Regions from separate parts of the Homo sapiens genome. Here region 2 is linked to region 1. The links are contacts of gene promoters, found by promoter capture Hi-C in blood cells and fetal thymus (Javierre and others, 2016). All regions are on one chromosome and are shown on one strand. Each heading gives the region's core, a stretch centred on a gene start or on the middle of the fragment in contact. The rest is flanking DNA. Distances are from core to core; before and after follow the strand shown. Region 1 holds the start of CACNB2 (calcium voltage-gated channel auxiliary subunit beta 2). Region 2 overlaps HACD1 (3-hydroxyacyl-CoA dehydratase 1).

The links. The method cuts DNA at HindIII sites, captures the fragments that hold promoters and counts their contacts. A CHiCAGO score of 5 or more calls a contact.
Region 2: a fragment that was not itself captured here is called in contact with the fragment with the promoter of CACNB2 in region 1 in 1 of 17 cell types (fetal thymus); the score reaches 5.5 in fetal thymus.

The regions. Positions count from the first base shown.
Region 1 is chr10:18,137,932-18,141,878 of GRCh38, reverse strand. It overlaps CACNB2 (calcium voltage-gated channel auxiliary subunit beta 2), which reads right to left and starts at 1,455. Exons shown (of 14, transcript NM_201596.3): 1 at 1,023-1,455. The coding sequence starts at 1,142. The HindIII fragment of the contact is 10,163 bases long and covers 1-3,947 here.
Region 2 is chr10:17,591,703-17,595,268 of GRCh38, reverse strand. HACD1 (3-hydroxyacyl-CoA dehydratase 1) reads left to right here. Exons shown (of 7, transcript NM_014241.4): 6 at 886-1,064. Among named protein-coding and RNA genes, the nearest start is that of HACD1, 24 kb to the left of the region's middle. The HindIII fragment of the contact is 4,408 bases long and covers 1-3,526 here.

The DNA of each region.
Region 1 (3,947 bases), core at 206-2,705:
AGTTAAGCAAACAGACATTTCTCCAGAATGCTGCCTGAAATGTAACCAAGACCTCTTCACATCACTGGCCAGCCAACAGCCAGCCCGCAGCTAGGAGTCTGAAGTCATTTCCCTGCCGGGAGAAAAGTTGAGCGACTCCTCATCGCTGAGACCTGGAGGTGTCTGTAACCCAAACTGTACCTGCTGAAGCCTTACGTAAAAACGTAAAAACCACCTTGTCATTGCCCAGCGCCTACAACTGACATCTCCAATTTCACAACAACCTGCAGCGAAGCTGACTTTTTCCAGAAACCGCAAACACTCAACGGAGAGAAAGGGGATCCTGGAGATCCCTGAAATGGCTAACATTTCAGGGGAGACGGAAAAATAAAAACTTTCTTGTCCCCAGCTCACTCGCTTCTTAAGGGAAAGGCATGAGGTGGGACAGGCAAACCTTGGCAAGTGCCCGAGGGGACTGGAGAGCTGTCAGCCCCAGGTGCGCAGCGTGGTCCGGGCAGCTCTGGGGGGATCCGGCAGGGCACCCCCATATTCGCTCCCCTCCTGCCCACCTGCACCCCATCATCCTCACACCCACGCCCACCCCGGCTCGGAGCGTGGCCAGGAGAGTCGGCATCGTAGAAAGCGCTGCGGGAAGCGGGCCCCCTCCCGCCCACCCGGACTCACGATCTTCAGCAGGTCCAGTCCACTCCCCTGATTCATGTCTCTCCATGTGCCTCTCCCGGGAAGGGGCGAGGAGGGCCAGCTGGAGCAACCCGGGAGAAGTCTGGGAGGACTGGCAGGTCTCCCCCGCCCTTCCCCACTGGCTTTTCGGAAGCAGAGAAAAATGGAAGCCGAGGCAGAGCCAGGAAAAGGCGCAAAGGGGCAGGGTCCCCGGCGCCAGGAGAGGAGCAGAGGGTGGGCAGGCGACGAGGGGAGGAGGTGCGAGGCTAGAGATCCCTGCAGTGGAGGCGCCGGGAGAACCCGAGGTCGGTGCCCTGCCCGGCGGCTCACAAAGGAAGGAGAAGGCGCCGCGCTCTCGCTACCTGTGCGGCGGCTCCGAGCGCCCCCGCGGGAGCCACGTTCTCTAGCAGTTCCATCTGGATCTCCTGCGCCACCGCCGCCGCCGCTGTGGGAGGCGACTTGGACATGTCCCTTTGGACCATTGGCGAAAAGTCGGCTCGGAGCGAAGCAGCCAGCCCCCGGCGGCGGGTCCCCTCCTCCTCGCCCCCGCCTCCCCGCGCTCTGATCGGCTCTGGGGGCCGCCCAGGGCTCAGGCCCGGCCGTTCTCGGCGCAGCGCCCCGCAGCGCCCCGGGACTCGGCGCCCTGCTGCCAGGCGCTCAGTGCGCGGGACGGGGCCGGGGCATCGGGCGAAGCGAGCCGCTCGGGAGGCGGGACGCGGGGGCGCGGCTGCGGTGCCTGGGAGAGGGGAGCCCTCAGCGGGGCAGCCGGGGCCGGGAGAGCGGGCGCAGCGCGGCGGGGATCGGAGCCGCGGGCGCCGGGAAAGGTCCTCGCCAGGAGGGGAGGGAACTCCGGGAGCGCGAGCCAGGGGGAGGCGCGTCGGAAAGCGAGAGTGACAAGCAGCCTACAAGCCGAAAAGTTCCTCGCGGGAGGCGCGCGCCGCGTGGGCTCCGACTCAGCCGCTGCGCGTCGCCGTGGCACACAGGCTGAAAAGTTTGCGAAGCCACAGAAGCCAGGCCCGGCGCTCAGGGGGCCTTGATCCTGTTCCCATGGCCCCAGACCACCCCTCAGGAACCCTTAGAGCAGATCTCTTAACTTTGGAGGGGAAGGACGACGGAGGCTGGGTTCCTACACTGAAAGTTTTAAATTTGTAAAGCCTGCTGGCAGCCCGGGAGAGCAAATGTCTGCAAAGAACATCTTCTGGGCAGCTGAAAGCCCTTGCTAATGTCAGTAATAAGGATCCAGAGAAAGAAATGGCATTGATAAAGATCATCAGGTGATCCCACCTGAATCTGCAGCTGGCCTCGTCAACTAGGTGGGAATCCACCCAACCTGAGACCGAATGTTTTGCTTTATGACTGCTGTCTTCATCTTTGCCAAATTAAATTAGCACTTCTTTCCAAACATAATTGAAGTTTGTTGTTGTTGTTGCTTGTTGTTGTTTTAGACGGAGTCTCACTCTGTCGCCCAGGCTGGAGTGCAATGGCGCGATCTCAGCTCACTGCAACCTCCGCCTCCTGGGTTCAAGCGATTCTCTAGCCTCAGCCTCACGAATAGCTGGGATTACAGCCACAGGCCACCAAGCCCAGATAATTTTTGTGTTTTTAGTGCAGACGGGGTTTCACCATGTTGCCCGGGCTGGTCTTGAACTCCTGACCTCAAGTAATCCACCGGCCTCGGCCTCCCAAAGTGCTGGGATCACAGGGGTGGGACACCACGCCAGGCCAGGGTTGAGGTTTTTCTATAGGGGTGAAAAGTCTTAGTGTCACATTTTTGACAAAACAAGCACTTCCTTAAGATCCAGAATTCTTGATAACAGGATAGTGACTATGGTGAGGGTGTTTCACTTACAACATTCCGTTCAGATAGTCCCAAGGAGCCACATTTTTACATGATTGAGTGCAACTTATTTCAACAAATTTTACTACAGTGGAAACTTCTGTAATGAGTTTTCCAGGCATTTTTTTTTTTTTTTTTTTGAGACAGAATTTCACTCTTGTCACCCAGGCAGGAATACAGTGGCACGATCTTGGCTCACTGCAACCTTCGCCTCCTGGGTTCAATCCATTCTCCTGCCTCAGCCTCCCGAGTAGCTGGGATTACAGGTGCACGCCACCACAGCCGGCTAATTTTTTTGTATTTTTAGTAGAGATGGGGTTTCACCACGTTGCCCAGGCTGGTCTCGAACTCCTGACCTCAGGTGATCTGCCCGCCTCTGCCTCCCAAAGTGCTGGGATTACAGATTTGAGCCACTGCATCCAGCCTAATTTTTGTATTTTTTAGTAGAGACAGGGTTTCGCCATGTTGGCCAGGCTGGTCGCAAACTCCTGACCTCATGATCCGCCCACCTTGGCCTCCCAAAGTGCTGGGATTACAGGTGTGAGCCACCGTGCCCATCCAGCTCCAGAAACCTATTTATATGTTATTTTGTAACAACAAACTGAAAGTTTGGTATATTGAAATACACATGCAAAAATTTACTATAATAGGCTTCAACTGCCTTCTATAGTTTACTATGATATATTAAATTACATGAGATACAGTACTTTTCTCCTCAAAGATAAGCATAGACATTTTAAACCTATCATCTCCACCATAGCACTGATTTGCGCCAGGCTTAAAGAATGGGTCTTGATACAGTTAAAGATTTAGCCATAAAGCATCATTGATTTTCCTAAACTTTGGTATTAAAAATGCCACTTTTATGGGCTACGGACACAAATAGAAAATTCTCAAAAGAAGATATACAAATGGCCAACAAACATATGAGAAAATGCTCAACATCAATAATGATCAGGGAAATGCAACTCAAAACCACAAAGTGATACCACCTTACCCCTGTAAGAATGACCATAATCAAAGAATCAAAAAACAGATGTTGGCATGGATGCAGTGATCAGGGAACACTTCTGCACTGCTGGTGGGAATGTAAACTAGTACAGCCACTATGGAAAACAGTGTGGAGATTCCTTAAAGGACTAAAAGTAGAACTACCATTTGATGTAGCAATGCCACTACTGGGTATCTACCCAGAGGAAAAGAAGTCATGATTCAAAAAATATACTTGCACATGCATGTTTACAGCAGCACAATTCACAGTAGCAAAATTGTGGAACCAACCCAAATGCCCATCAATCAACGAGGTGATAAAGAAACTCTGATATATATGATGATGGGATACTACTCAGCCATGAAAAGAAATAAATTAACAGCATTTGCAATGACCTGGATGAGATTAGAGACTATTATTCTAAGTGAAGTAACTCAGGAATGGAAAATCGAACATCAT
Region 2 (3,566 bases), core at 73-2,572, 550 kb after region 1:
AAACGCAGTGTTTGATCAATAAATTACTAGCTGCCGCGGACAAAAGCAGTCATTTGTGATTTTATGCACCAAAGAAGTTACCATTACAATACTTTTTTTAAAGCTACATAGGCCGGGCATGGTGGCTCATGTCTGTAATCCCAGCACTTTGGGAGGCTGAGGCGGGTGGATCACCTGAAGGCAGGAGTTCAAGACCAGCCTGACCAACATGGTGAAACCCTGTCTCTACTAAAAATACAAAAATTAACCGGGCGTGGTGGCGGGCGCCTGTAGTCCCAGCTACCCAGGAGGCTGAGGCAGGAGAATTGCTTGAACCCGGGAGGTGGAGGTTGCAGTGACCCAAGATTGTGCCACTGCACTCCAGTCTAGGCGACAGAGTAAGACTCCATCTCAAAAAAAAACAAAAAACAAAAAAAAAAAACACCAAAAATTAGCTGGGTATGGTGGCACACACCTGTAATCCCAGCTACTTGGGAGGCTGAGGCAGGAGAATTACTTGAACCCAGGAGGTGGAGGTTGCAGTGAGCCAAGACTGTGCCGCTGCACTCCAGCCTGGTGACAAGAGCGAACTCCATCTCAAAACAAAAACAAGAAAAACTACATATACATTTTTTAATACATAAAAGTATTTTGGTACTCTAAAATAAGTTGATACTATTTTATTAAAAAGACATTGCCTATTATGGAAACTGGTATTAGGAAAAAAAGGATGATAATCAATAAGCAAATGATTAAAGTAGAACTATTAACCTTACGTAAGGTTATTGTAAATATGTAAAGAAAAGAGAATTTTGAAGTTTAAATTTAGTAGTAGCAATAGACCTGCAATGTAAAGTCTAATAATTATTGTAGAAAAATAATTCTCTGAGGTTTTTCTTTCTCCAGATATAATTTTTTTATCATCTTATATCCTGTTGGAGTTGCTGGTGAACTTCTTACAATATACGCTGCCTTGCCGCATGTGAAGAAAACAGGAATGTTTTCAATAAGACTTCCTAACAAATACAATGTCTCTTTTGACTACTATTATTTTCTTCTTATAACCATGGCATCATATATACCTTGTAAGTATATACTTATTAGTACTTTGATTTGACATATGATGTGGAAATTTTTGAAAGGATATAATAATATGCAAGGGGAAATAATTAGAAATAATTGCTTACAAATACATTAAAACTTCGGTTTAACTCCATATTTACTGATAATTTGGGAAAAGTGAAGGGAGATAGAGGCAGAAGACAGTTCATTAGCTATGAGAATAAAGGCAGGTAAATTAACGCATGGATTATTGCTTTCTCAAAATCATTTAAACATCAGCTTAGTATGATTTTTTTAAAGAAAGATAAAAACAAATCATGTTTAAAGCATTAGTGCACTTTTTACAAGCATTTAGAATTATATGTCTGAGTATAAACACTGTGTCCAAGAAAATTTCAGATCATTTCTATCTATTCATTAAGCATATACTTGGAAAAATCATCTAGGAGTAGTTTTGAGTCTTATTTGTGTTGCTCTATGTACTTGCAAATAATAAAGCCTCTTTTCTTAAAGGATTTTGAATAAGTCAGCCTCTTCACTAATTTCTCATCATCTTTCAGCAGTTGAAGTGAATTGGTAAGGCTTTACTCCATTTCAGTGCTGCTAATAGTGAGGCAGGGCTCCGTGGCTCATGCCTATAATCCCAGCACTTTGGGAGGCCGAGGCAGGTGGATCACCTGAGGTCAGGAGTTCGAGACCAGGCTGGCCAACATGGCAAAACCCTGTCTCTACTAAAATACAGAAATTAACTGGGCATGGTGGCGCATGCCTGTAATCTCAGCTACTCAGGAGGCTGAGGCAGGAGAATCGTTTGAACCTGAGAGGCAGAAGTTGCAGTGAACTGACATGATGCCATTGCATTCCAGCCTGGGCAATAAGAGTGAGACTCTGTCTCAAAAAAAAAAAGGCGTGGGGGCTAATAGTGATATATTTTTAAGTCAAATATTGATAGCTCTAAAATCTACATCGACATGATACAAATTATTTCATCTAAAGGAGATGCGCATAAAACTTGGCCAGCCCCTTGAGGTCTCCAACTTTTTTTTGTTGTTTTTTTTGAGACAGAGTCTTGCGCTTTTGCCCAGGCTGGAGTGCAGTGGCGCCATCTCAGCTCACTCCAATCGCTGCCTCTCAGGTTCATGGGATTACAAGCGCCTGCCACAGTGCCCACCTAATTTTTGTATTTTTAGTAGAGACGAGGTTTCACCATATTGGCCAGGCTGGTCTCAAACTCCTGACCTCAAGGGATCCACCCACCTTGGTCTCCCAAAGTGCTGGGATTACAGGCATGAGCCCCTGCCCCCGGCAGATGTCTCCAACTTGTATCTTTCCCAAAGTCAAAATTGACTTAGTGGTGAAAGATATGTTTTCCCCTTGTCTTCTACCACTTCAGCCTGATTCTGTATCTGATTTTCTACCCCAGCCAGTTCGGGAGAGCTAAGGAGGGGATGCCTACTCTATTGGTTCACATCCCTCTCTTTTCCCAATGGCAGGTTAATGGTAGCATTACTTGAACAGAACCAGAGCTTGCTTCGGTGTCTGTCTGACAGTTACAGGTTCAAACAGTGGGTTCTCTTCCTCCTCATGGCTTTTGAGGCATCTCCATGGAAATGGAGAGCCTGAAGCACCTTTTTCAGTTGTCCTGGGAGATGTAGACTCTGGCCTGTACCAGTAGCAGCTTCCCAGTTCACCATGCTGCCAGCTACTGAGTCCCACTGGCCAGAGAATCACTCAGCCCAGAACATGTTTTCCACTGCATTTTTTTTTAATTCCCTCCTCCCCCTGCATTCTTAATGTTAGTAATAAATCAATTAATTTTACTTATTAAATCCTTTGCTAATTAAAAGTACTTTTTGAGTACTTAGTATTCAAAAGTAGTAGTATTATTTCTCATTTACATTAAGATGAAAGAGGTTAAGTGAGTTGCTTAAAAATCACTAGCTTGTGGCCTGGTGTGGTGGCTCACACCTGTAATCGCAGCACTTTGGGAGGCCAAGGTGGGAGGATTGCTTGAGGTCAGGAGTTCAAGACCAGCCTGACCACCATGGTGAAACCCCGTCTCTACTAAAAATACAAAAATTAGCCAGACATGGTAGTGGGCACCTGTAGTCCCAGCTACTCAGGAGGCTGATGCAGGAAAATCACTGAAACCGGGGAGGCAGAGGTTGCAGTGAGCCAAGATTACACCACTGCACTCCAGCCTGAGTGACAGAGTGAGACTCCATCTCAAAAAAAAAAAAAAAAAAAAAAATCAGTAGCTGGTGAGTTAAGGCAGGGTTTGAACTCAAGCCCATACCTTCTGTTCAGCTACTCGGAATTTTATGGAAGTATTTACAATAATTGGTCAGTGAGTTTAAGTAATTATGACCTGAGTAAATTTAGCCCCCTAGGTATATATAATGTGATGGTAACCTTTCTTAAGTTAGGAAGAACCTAAATAGAAAGACTTTTTATCCAAAGTTGCCTAAGCAGGATATTCAAAGCTTGTTTTGTGATAAGGTTCATTGGTTTGATTATTCTGATCA